Regions from separate parts of the Homo sapiens genome. Here regions 1, 2 and 3 are each linked to region 4. Evidence: promoter capture Hi-C in 16 types of primary human blood cells and fetal thymus (Javierre and others, 2016). All regions are on one chromosome and are shown on one strand. The core of a region is centred on a gene start or on the middle of the fragment in contact, and the rest is flanking DNA. Distances in the headings are between cores, read along the strand shown. Region 1 holds the start of DDX46 (DEAD-box helicase 46). Region 2 holds the start of TXNDC15 (thioredoxin domain containing 15). Region 3 holds the start of JADE2 (jade family PHD finger 2). Region 4 overlaps AFF4 (ALF transcription elongation factor 4).

Region 1 (2,700 bases), core at 52-2,551, 1.8 Mb after region 4:
ACTCCGTCTCAAAAAAAAAAAACAAAAAAAATTCAACATTTCTGTGTGTGTTGCATGAGACAATACATATACATTTTTTTGGTGCCCAAACTCTCGAATAATGTTCTCAATCTTGACTGTACTTCAGAATTACCTGGGAAGCTTAAAAATTCCCAGTGCACAAGAAGCACTCCAGGCCAATTAAATCAGAACATAGGGGTGGAACCCAGGCTTCTATTTTATTTACTAATATTTTAGAGATGAGATTTCTCTGTGCTACCCAGGCTGGAGTCATCATAGCTCACTGCAGCCTCAAACTCCTGGGCTCAAGTAATCTTCTTGCCTCAGCCTCCCTGGCTCAAATGATCCTCTCACCTCAGCCTCCCAAGTAGCTAGAACCACAGGCGTGCCAGCACACCTGGCTAATTATTTTGCTTATTTTTTGTAGAGGGTCTCGCTATGTTGCCCAGGTAGGTCTTGAATTCCTGGGCTCAAGCCATCCTCCTGCCTCGGCCTCCCAAAGTGCTGGGATTATAGGCATGAGCCACCATGGCTGGCCCTTTTTTTGTTTTTTTGTTTTATTTTTAAGCTTCCCAGTGCAAGCAATGTTGAGAACTAATCTTTTGCCAAAGTATTTTTAGCTCTTTGTTCTCTACTAGGTTAACACCTACCGGGTCTTCAAATCTCACCTCAGAGTTCACTTCCAAGGGAAACGTGTTTTCTGAATCCGTCTCCAATGGTGGACTCTCCTTGCTGTATTACTTCTGCTTGTGTTTTTAGTCAAGTCTATTATTATTACTATTTTCTTTGCAGAGACGAGGGCTACGTTGCCCAGGTCTTGAATTCCTGGGCTCAATAGATCCTCCCGCCTCAGCCTCCCAAAGTGCTGGGATTTCAGGCGTGAGCCACTGTGCTGGCTTTAGTCATCTGTTTCCCGGATAGACTGTGAGCTCCCCAGGATCTAGCACAAGCCTGGCATATGACAACATAAATAAATGAGTGAATGTATACATGAATAAAGAGCGTGTACGGAGAAAGTTGCCGCATTATTTAGCGCAAATTAAGGCAGACATCAGCCTGCCCAGGACGCCTCTTTGGCTCTGGCGCGAAACACCCTCACGGGCCGGCGAGGCTGACGCGCTGCGCTCCATCGCACTAATCAGCCGGGCGTGGTGCGGGCGCCGGGAAGACTGGGCGGGGCGAAGGCATCACCTTTCGATGGGGCCGGCGCTGTGCGTCCTCCAGTCGAGGTGGGGCGCTGTGGAAGAGCGGCAGCTTCCGGTCGGCTTTTCTCTTCCTTCGGCTGCCGGCGCCAGCACGTCCTGTTTTCGTTGGCCGCGCTGGGATGGCCGCCACAGCTGTAGGTGCTGCTAGTGTTTAGCGCTGGTCTTTGCCGGGCGTTGAGGGCAGCTCAGCCTCCTTGTTTGTCCGGTTCGCCTGTGCGTGGTACTCAAGGGCACCAGTATTCCCGCGGTCGGCAGCATGGGTCGGGAGTCACGGTGAGGCAGAGCGCCGAGCGGGCTAGCGGGCGAGCGGCTTCTTGGGGTCGTGAGAAGAGGCGGGAGTTGAGGTGGCCGCCGGGCCAGGCCTGGCGCGGCCCCACGTGCGGTCAGCGCTGCCCCGCGAGCATTGGAAGGGCTGGGGGACCTCGGCTGAGGGAATGGTTGTGTTTGGGCCAGCGACGGCTTCCCCTGCACTACCATCAGAGGGTTCGAGCCCCTGGAGCGGGAACAACCCTCCAGGACGTTAGTGATTGGGCACCACATCCCGCCACTTCAAGGGAGCCTGCCCTGATTACTTCAGTCAGAAGTGATCCCAGTTGGATTGCTTATTGCTTCGCGTTTCCAACATTTCCTCGACTCCTGTCATTCTGTATTTTAGTTCTTTGTGCGCGTATGATCTTTTCCCAAGTTACTTGAAAGGAGCGTGTGGGCAGACATTTTTACCGCATCGACAGCACTATACACGACTAGGCTTTTACTGGGCTACAATAAATACTTGTTGCGTGGGCATTTACTTCGCAAATAGATTTCGTATTTAAGCAGGTAACTTTGTTACCTGCTTTTCTGTCCTTTTGAAGTTGTGGACTATGAGCTCTTATTAGAACTCATTAGATCTCATCACAACTTTAGATTGTTGATAGATTGTTAGGAACCTTGAGATTTTTATGTTAAAAATGACTATTTGCTATGTATTTAGCAATGACTGAAAGATATTTTATGTCTAGGAACAATGAAGGCTTTTGTTGTTAGTGCTAACAGTTCTTTGTTGAGGTACAATTAACAATCAGGGAAATGGACAAAACGTAAGGGTAAAGCTTGATGAAATTTAGCAAATATATAAACCGTGTAATCATCACCTGGATGAAGATAAAAAATATTTCTTTAACTACAGAAAATTCCTGTGACGGTGTTTTAAATCTCCGGAAGGCTGTCCAGACCAGAAATCTGAAAGTGATATTTATTTGACTCATTCTTCTCTCTCACTACCCACAGCCTGTTAGATTCTACATCCTTTGCCCATTCTGGTTGTCCCTGACTTAATTGAGGCCCTAATTATTTATTGTCCAGACTACTACATCTGTTTTAAATTGATTCTCTGAATTGATTGTCTTCCTCTGTTGCTCTCCTAATTGTTAGATCCCTTACACTACAGCCAGAGTGACACTTCTGAAGTAGAGATAAGATGATGGCATGCCCCTGACTTAGTCTCCATTGGTTT
Region 2 (2,700 bases), core at 144-2,643, 1.9 Mb after region 4:
TTCTGGACCCACAAGATGGCACTTGAGGATCTACAACAGCAAAACCATACCAACGTATTTAGAATAAAAGAATCATCCACAGGGACAGATTAATGATGCATCTTTCTGGCCTAACAGTGTCTTTTTGATGGGCATAGAGATAAGGGGACTATGGCCACACCATCAGAATTGTATTATTCAATTAATAATGCCTACCACTTTGAAATGCTTCCTGTGCCCCAGGACACTGTGCTCATCACTTTACATCTCATTTCATCTATAAGACTCTATATAACGTCATTTCCACTTTACAGCTGAAGAAACTTAACTTTAAGTTACATAACCTGCTGACTGTGAACTATCACATGTGCTGAAGTTGGGATTCACCAAGCGGCCAAAAAGCACAGGTTCCCCTTACCATTGCTATGTTAACCAATAGACTGATGTATTTTAAATCAGTTTCTATTTTTTCAACCTCATAAGTTTGAAAAGCTGCACTCTGCACTGATTTAGCACTGACTGGTGGCTGCTTAAAGCTTGCCTTATTCCATTTTAGCAGGCCCCCCGGCAAAATACCCCAATTAGTGGTGTCATCCTCTCTATTCCAAGAATTTTCTCTTAAGACTCCCGCTCTGTGCGTTTGCTTGGGAATGCAGAGCCCTGTTCCTCATCTCCCCATCTATGCTTTCTTCATTCTAAGCCCTTTCCTATCTACTTTATGCTCGAGGTGGCTCCACCTCCACCATGAGCCAGAGCCAATGATGCTCACGGCCCCAACCATGATTAAAAAGAGATTGCCCTGCAAGGTAAATCAGTTAAAACCAACCTCTCCTGCCCTGAGTGGATAGGTAGGGTTAGGGTTGCCAGATGTCACGAAGTTACAGGATGCTCAGTTTTAAGGTATATCCCTTATACTATAAGGGTTATAGTAAAAAATATTCATTATGTGAAATTCAAATATAACTGGGTATCAGGTATTCTATGTGGCAACCCTAGGTAGGGGAGCACAGGTTAGGCAAGCGATTAGAAGATTTGCAGCCTCCAAAGTTTCTGCACCTCGATGGGACACTAGAACAGGAAGGCTCCTGGGCCTTTCTGGCTCTGGGAATGAAGCGTGGAAAACCCTCCTTAGGCGGGCGCAGTGCTTCAAGTAGCCAAGCTCTGACTTCCGAGGGAAGAAAGGAGGCCATGGGCCTCTGCCAGAGCCATGCTCTGCACTCTGGGGTCAGCAGAGTTCAAAACGACCTGCAACGTCTGGCGCTTAGCTCCTAAAGAGGTCTCCAGTCCAGCGCCGACGGCCAGCGGCTAGAGGCCGTCCGCCCGACTCCAAGATGGCGCCCGCCACAGCTGCCAGGTGTTAAGATGGCGGCGCGGGGCCGCGCCCGCGCTCCCAGGCTCTCCTCCCCCAGCCTTCCTCCGGCTGGCAGCACGACTCGCGTAGCCGTGCGCCGATTGCCTCTCGGCCTGGGCAATGGTCCCGGCTGCCGGTCGACGACCGCCCCGCGTCATGCGGCTCCTCGGCTGGTGGCAAGTATTGCTGTGGGTGCTGGGACTTCCCGTCCGCGGCGTGGAGGGTGAGTGTGGGCCGGGGGCGGTGCATGAGATGATGGGGCGAGCTGAGGTCCACCCGGGCGACGCTCTGGACCTGCGCGAAGGCCGGCGGTGCGCGACTCGCCCCTTCTTGGCGTCTCCCCGGGCGCGTCTCCCCGACTTCTCTCCCCGCGCACCGCCCGCTGGTGGCCCGCGAAAGGGGGCCGGTGGGCTGAGGGCCGGTGGACGGGAGCCCGGGGGTGGTTGGGCCGCGTTCAGGCCGCCCTCAGCCCGTGGCTGGTAGCCAGGAGGGACAGTGCGGTAAGCGCTGCTGAGGCATACCCTCTGGTGATAAGCAATTTATTATTAATAACATTATATCAAATACCGACATTGTTGTGGCCGTATTAGGAGCCAGGAACTGTGCATCGTGCTTTATTTACATCATTATCCCATTTAATGCTCCCACAAACCCTGTCAGATCGGTTCCGTTTAGTGTCTCCATTTCACAGATGAAGATGCTCAGGCCCCGCCTAAGTTTGCGCTTCTGATACGTGGCAGAAGCCTGTCTCTCTGACGCCAAAGCCCAGTCTGGAGTCCACGCTGCTGGACCACTGTCTTAAGGAGGCCAGTCTTGCTCAGCTCCCTGCATGAAAAACAGACGAGAAACACGGGAGACTCCCGGTAACCCCCAACTTGCCGGTAGGGAAGGCAGCCACTCTAGAGGCATGGCGAGGGTGGAGAGTGGAGGCCTTACTTTCATGCTCCTTCACCCCACTCCTCATAGTCCTGTTAAAGTCCAGACCCTCGGTCTCGCTTGTCATTTAGACCTTAACAGGAATAGGCAGGTCTTTCTTTTCCCTGGGGTGTCCTGGATGGAGGCAGGACAGCAGAGAGTTGTGGAGAAGGGTGAGTCATAGTAACACAATTACCATGAATGAAAGCGCTCACTGTGTACCAGATGCTGTGCTCAGTGCTTTACGAGCATCATCTTTTGGAATCTTTACTGTTTTGTTTTTGTTTTTTTAAGGGATGAGGGCTTGCTCTGTTGCCCAGGCGGGAGTGCAGTGGCCCATCATGGCTCCCTGCAGCCTTGAACTCCTGGGCTTAAGTGATCCTCCCACCTGTTTCCCAAAGTGCTGGGATTACAGATGTGAGCCACTGCTCCCGGTTTATGTAATTTTTATTTTT
Region 3 (2,715 bases), core at 92-2,591, 1.6 Mb after region 4:
GCCACCGCCGGCTAGCAGCCCGACAGCCCGCCCGCCTGGCGAGCGCAGGCTCTTCTTCCAGAAACTGCGAGGATCCGAGCGTACTGTTTGTGCACCACAAGGTCAAGTCGGGAAGTGGAGCCGGAGGAGGAGGGGCGAGGAGGCGAAGGGTGGGGAGAGGGGCGCCCCGCTTCCTCGCCATGTGCCAGCCTTTGGAAGTTACCCCTCGGTTTTTAACCCTTTCGGGGTAATGGGAAGGAAGAGCAAGGAGGAAGGGGTCGCCCCGGGGCAAAATCCTGCTGGGGCCAGGATGTGCAACCACCCACCCACCCGCTCATCACTGCCTTCTCCACCCCCCGGAAATGCGGGGCAGCGCTAGGCGCCAGGAGGCACCCGGGAGGGGGGAGGGGGCGACGAGCCCAATGGGGACCCTCTCTACGGACCGCCCCTCTTTTCTTGAGGTCGCCTACAATTTCAAGTTCCCCCGCCCGGAATGTTAGTTTTCCATTTGGAGTGGGTGCGGGGAGGAGGGCCGCGCCCCCTCCCCAAGACTCGCGTTCGCCCCTCCACTCCCCTCCTGCCAGCACTTTCTGCTCACTTCTGGTGCTGCAAAACGCCACGCAATTTATTCGATTCGCATTTTAAAACCAGCGATTCAGAAGCAGGGCCTAGGGCGAGGGTCTTCCAGCGCTGGAGCCCCGGGGGGCGGGGTGCTCAGTGCAAACCTCGTTCCCTCCGCGAGTGTCGCCTCCAGGCTGTTATTTGCAAAGAAACGTCTTTTTGACGCAGGGAGAAATGGCAAATTTTAAGTACGTCATTAATATGGCGCCAAAAGATTTTTTTAAGTATAAGCTCGCTTTTTTTTTTTTTTAAGGTTGCGGGGGGCGCCGCCCGGGTCTGGGGCGCGTAGGGGGCGGGGTGTGAGCAGAAAGTGTGAGTGAAAGAGTGGAGGGGCGGGGTATGTGTGTGAGTGTGTGAAGTGTGAGCAGACCTGATGGGACTTGCACGGGCGCAGCCGCCGCTCGGGCCCGGCCCTGGGGACAGGGCGGGCTAGGGGCGCCCCAGAGTCCATGGGGAGTCCGGGCCCAGGGTGCCAGCAGGCGTGGTGGTGGGGCTGCGAGGGAGGGCACCCTTCCCCCACGGGGCCCGCAACGCTACCTGGACTCCCCGCCGGAGCCAAACAACTGGGCGGGGGGTTGGGGGGGCGGCGACGGGGGTGTCGGGAGCGGAGATCCGAGTGAATAAGAAAAAAGTGGCTACTCCCCCTCCCTCGCTCCTCCTGCCCGCCCCCACCCCACCCCCACCCCAACACATTTTTTTTTTCTAAAGAGATCACAAGGAAGTCTTGGTTTAAAAAGAAACAGAAACATACACAGGGGGTTGGTGAATGGTGCCGACCGCGGCCATCGCAGTTGGAGGCTATTTTTTGGGGGGGGTGAGTAGCGTCCATGGAGTTACTTTGCGCCCACTCCTAGCGGCACCGGCTTAGGTCCTGCGGGCCGACCGTCCCCGGCGGGGGGCGTGGGGCCTGGGACGCCGCGGGCCCGGCCGCCTCCCTCGCCGCGACCCCGGATGGATGCGCGCCCCCCGCCCTCCCGCGCCGGCCCCAGGAGCTCCCGGCTTCGGGAGCATCCTTCCCGCGCCGGTCCCTGCAGCGGCGCGTAGCCGAGGGCAGCGCCCGTCAGGGGGGCACCGCGGAGCAAGGTAAGATCCAGCCCCCGGCGGATGGGCCCTGCGCATCTCCACGACGTTATTTGGCGTTTTTGCAACAGATCTGCCAGCGCTCTTCGCTCCCTCGCTCTCTCTTGCTCGCTCGCTCCCTCTCTCTCCTGCTGGCTGCCTGTTCTAGGAAGCCAGCGCGGAGAGGGGGGGGATGCACAGCACAGGGGAGAGAGATTGCGCATGTTGGTCAGTCGTGTTTTAAAGAGTACAGTGCGGGGAGGCTGAGAGGGGCGCATGCAACAACAACTTTTGGAAGGGTGAGCTTGGCGACCTTCTTTATTAATGACTGCGGCAAAGCGCCCCCGGGCCGGCGAGGGGGCGCGGGCGGGCGGGGGCGCGCCAGGGCTGCAACTTCCCCGCGGGCTCCGGCCGGGCGTAGGGGCTGCGGCGGGAGATGGGTACGGTGGGGAGGTCGAGCGGCCCGGGCGGGGGCTCCGAGAACCTGGAGCTATCTGCCCTCCTGTCTCCCCGAGTTTCATTTTGTTGATACGCAGCACGTCCGGGCGCCGAACCGGGCTGAGCCGGTGCACATGACCTCGCGCTGGGCTCACGTGCAGCCGGTCCGGTCCCAGACACCTTCCGGGGGCCACCGCCTCCGCCCTGTCGCCCCCTCTCCCGGCCCGGTGCACGCGGGCGCTGCACGCGGGGGCAGCATGCTCGGCTCCTGGGGTTGGAGGCTCTGCACAAATTAGACAGTTTTTTTGGAGGGGCGGGGGACACCCTTTCCAGGTGAGTGTGGAGGGTGCGGAGCCTCGGCGCCAGGGGTGAGGACTGGGGTCGGGGGCAGCCTCCACCTCCGGGGCCGCGCGGTAGTCCAGCTGGGGAGAGGCGCTGGGAGAGTGGAAATGTACCGGCGGCGGCCGGAGCGGCGGGTGCGCGCCCGCGGGGCGACGGCAGGGGGCGTGGCCCTTGTTTACCTTCTCCCAACTCTGCCGGTTCGCGTCCCGCTTCAGGGACGGATCCGCAGTCCCCAGCCCTCTGCCTAGGGCCCTGCACCATGGGTGGTACCAGGAA
Region 4 (2,700 bases), core at 184-2,683:
GGTCTCGATCTCCTGACCTCGTGATCCGCCAGCCTCAGCCTCCCAAAGTGCTGGGATTACAGGCATAAGCCACTGCGCCTGGCCAGTAGGAGCGCTTTTCTTAAACCAAAGGAAAAAGCAGCAAGGTAACAGGTCAGGTTAGCTTTAGGCAGTCTTTAGTCACTACACCTTCTTTCACAATAACTGAGACTAGCTAACACCCTCCCAGAAATCAAATAGAATTGTTCCAACTTATCAGAGGAAATGAATAAGGGAATGGGTAAAACATAATAAGGATGCAGGAGAGCTGGGAACCTTTATATCATATAGAAAAGTCTTCATAGTGAGATATCTGTAGAATAAAGCTAAAGTAAAAAAAAATCTAAGTCATCAATTTTTTATAGTACATGCTGTACTTCTGGGTCATTGTCCAGGTGTGCTCTCAATACTTAAGAATACCTCTTTGATTTTATTAAAAATACCACAAAGAAAAGTCCTCATAGATTTTGAACTCCATTCTAAACCAGTGGATGGCCACAAAGGAAGAAATACCTGTTTTATTTGTTCCTCTCAGGTACACATAAAACTACGGCATTTACCTTACCTTCTCAAAAAAGGCAAAATATATAACTTTTAGAAAGCTTCATCTTCTGTCTCATCTTCTGAAACTGACAGGTTTTTCCCTTTCAAATACTGATCCTTTGCTCATACAGCTTTCTTTACATTACCTTTTTGTGAAATCTTAGATAAGTTGATAGAACAACAATTTCAAGTTCAAAATATTATCACATTCAAATTCAATCTAGTAATTGTGTAAAATACTGAGGAAGATAAAAAGAGGAATAAATATAGTACTTCCTCAAAGACCCTGTAACAGATCTGTAAGAAAATTATTATGCATCCCTCAATATCTGCAAGAGACAGGGAAAAAAAGAAAATTACAGTGCAAAACATATAGTAGGCTTCTGCTTGTTTGAGACATCGCCTAGGTTGGCCGGGCGCAGTGCTCATGCCTGTAATCCCAACACTTTGGGGAGGCCGAGGCGTGTGGATCACGAGGTCAGGAGTTCGAGACCAGTCTGACCAACCTGCTGAAACCCCGTCTCTACTAAAAATACAAAAAACATTAACTGGGAATGGTAGTGTGTACCTGCAATCCCAACTACTCAGGAGGCTGAGGCAGGAGAATCGCTTGAACCCAGGAGGCAGAGGTTGCAGTGAGCAGAGATGGAGCCACTGCATTCCAGTGGTGTGATCTCGGCTTACTGCAACCTTCGCCTCCCAGTTCAAGCGATTCTCAAGCGATTCTCGTGCCTCAGCCTCTGGAGTAGCTGGGACTACAGGCATGTACCACCATGTCTGGCTAATTTGGTTCTCATGCCTCAGCCTCTCAAGTAGCTAGAACTACAGGTGTGCACCACCACACCTGGCTAATTCTTGTATTTTTAGTAGAGACGGGGTTTCATTATGTTGGCCAGGATGGTCTAGAACTCCTGACCTCAGGTGATCCGCCCACCTCGGCCTCTCAAAGTGCTAAAGTGCTAGGATTACAGGCGTGAACCACCAGGCCCGGCTGCAGAATATATTGCTACAAAAAGGGTACAATAACTCAAGAGTACACAGAAGAGAATGTATCAACCTGAATGTGAGAATCTGACAAGTAGAAAGTGACTCAGAACAAAAATATTCAATCTTTAAGAATTCTTAATTACACAGCTTCACCTTACACTCCCAAACTGTAGATCATGTTCCAATTAACACAGCTGGGCTCTTTTTTCAGACACCCCATCTTGTCCCCACTTGAAGCAAAATTTTATTTAAAGTAAAATTTGCCTACTGTTTCTAGAGAGTTAACAAAAATCAAAGTACCAGCCTGCAAACCACCGCAAATTGAATGAAACTGCTGGTAATAAAAAAAGAAAAATTTGACTGCTTCCAGGTTTTTAGTAAGTTAACTCTGAAAGATAACTTAAAATAACTTACTGGGAATTTTTCTTATATTTAGGAGCTGAAAGATGCAGTGATAATAAGGAAAACGAATCTGAGAAATTTAAAGAAGCCAGCTTTGTTGAAAACCAAGTGGCCACTTGCCAACACTTCTTTATGCACGTATGACCAAAGATGATTCTAGGCAGACTCACAGACCACAAAGGCTCTTTATCAAATCCCAAATTAAGAAAGTTCTCATAAATATTTCAATTTTGATAAGTTAAAGACCAGTTAAGTTTTAAAAAGCACTTTATGAAGTGCAGAATCAATACAGAAACGAAGCTTTGCGCTTTTCATATCTGAGCCCGAAAAACAGCACACATTTTATGTTACATTTACAGTCTATTCACAGACACCTATAGCTTAGATTCCATCAAGAAAAACACTGGTCAATGGAAAAGTGACTGGCCTTAGTATAAAATTTCCATGTGGCCAGCAGGGAAGAAACCGCATAATTCTGAATTACAACTGACAAAACTACGAGAACCCTAAATCGAACTCTTCGCCTTGAACTCCATATACAAACATTTCAGATTCGTACTTCCACTTCCTGAAAATAATACTGTTTGTAAACGAAAAGGCAATAAGGTTACTCCCAAAACTCCTGTACTCCATGATCCATCCTCAAAGAGTGGAAGGAACAGCAAAGTAGAAGGAACAAAGCACTGACGTCAATTACGAGATTAACCCCAAGCACAGGCAGCTGGAGGAAAGGCCTAAACATCAATATCC

The links. Contacts are between HindIII fragments. The CHiCAGO score rates a contact against its expected background, and 5 or more counts as called.
Region 1: the fragment with the promoter of DDX46 here is called in contact with a fragment that was not itself captured in region 4 in 5 of 17 cell types (total CD8 T cells, fetal thymus, naive CD4 T cells and 2 more); the score reaches 8.7 in total CD8 T cells.
Region 2: the fragment with the promoter of TXNDC15 here is called in contact with a fragment that was not itself captured in region 4 in 3 of 17 cell types (non-activated CD4 T cells, naive CD8 T cells and fetal thymus); the score reaches 6.9 in non-activated CD4 T cells.
Region 3: a contact is called between the fragment with the promoter of JADE2 here and a fragment that was not itself captured in region 4, in 1 of 17 cell types (monocytes). The highest score is 5.5, in monocytes.

Annotation. Positions count from the first base shown.
Region 1 is chr5:134,757,478-134,760,177 of GRCh38, forward strand. It overlaps DDX46 (DEAD-box helicase 46), which reads left to right and starts at 1,302. Exons shown (of 23, transcript NM_001300860.2): 1 at 1,302-1,478. The coding sequence starts at 1,462. RefSeq lists an enhancer at 1,077-1,566. The HindIII fragment of the contact is 1,728 bases long and covers 567-2,294 here.
Region 2 is chr5:134,872,978-134,875,677 of GRCh38, forward strand. It overlaps TXNDC15 (thioredoxin domain containing 15), which reads left to right and starts at 1,394. Exons shown (of 5, transcript NM_024715.4): 1 at 1,394-1,553. The coding sequence starts at 1,451. It overlaps LOC124901071 (a long non-coding RNA gene), which reads right to left and starts at 2,421. Exons shown (of 2, transcript XR_007058943.1): 1 at 2,267-2,421; 2 at 1,854-2,155. RefSeq lists enhancers at 1,070-1,119, 1,140-1,429, 1,361-2,066, 1,960-2,029 and a silencer at 1,670-1,779. The HindIII fragment of the contact is 3,704 bases long and covers 514-2,700 here.
Region 3 is chr5:134,524,329-134,527,043 of GRCh38, forward strand. JADE2 (jade family PHD finger 2) reads left to right here and starts at 1,342. Exons shown (of 12, transcript NM_001388185.1): 1 at 1,342-1,683. LOC124901070 (a long non-coding RNA gene) reads right to left here and starts at 1,274. Exons shown (of 3, transcript XR_007058942.1): 1 at 1,138-1,274; 2 at 578-755. RefSeq lists silencers at 112-431, 1,012-1,061, 1,082-1,301, 1,432-1,511, 1,542-1,801 and 1 more. The HindIII fragment of the contact is 6,085 bases long and covers 1-2,715 here.
Region 4 is chr5:132,959,971-132,962,670 of GRCh38, forward strand. The region is part of intron 1 of AFF4 (ALF transcription elongation factor 4); the gene reads right to left. Among named protein-coding and RNA genes, the nearest start is that of AFF4, 2.3 kb to the right of the region's middle. RefSeq lists an enhancer at 691-1,192. The HindIII fragment of the contact is 1,630 bases long and covers 619-2,248 here.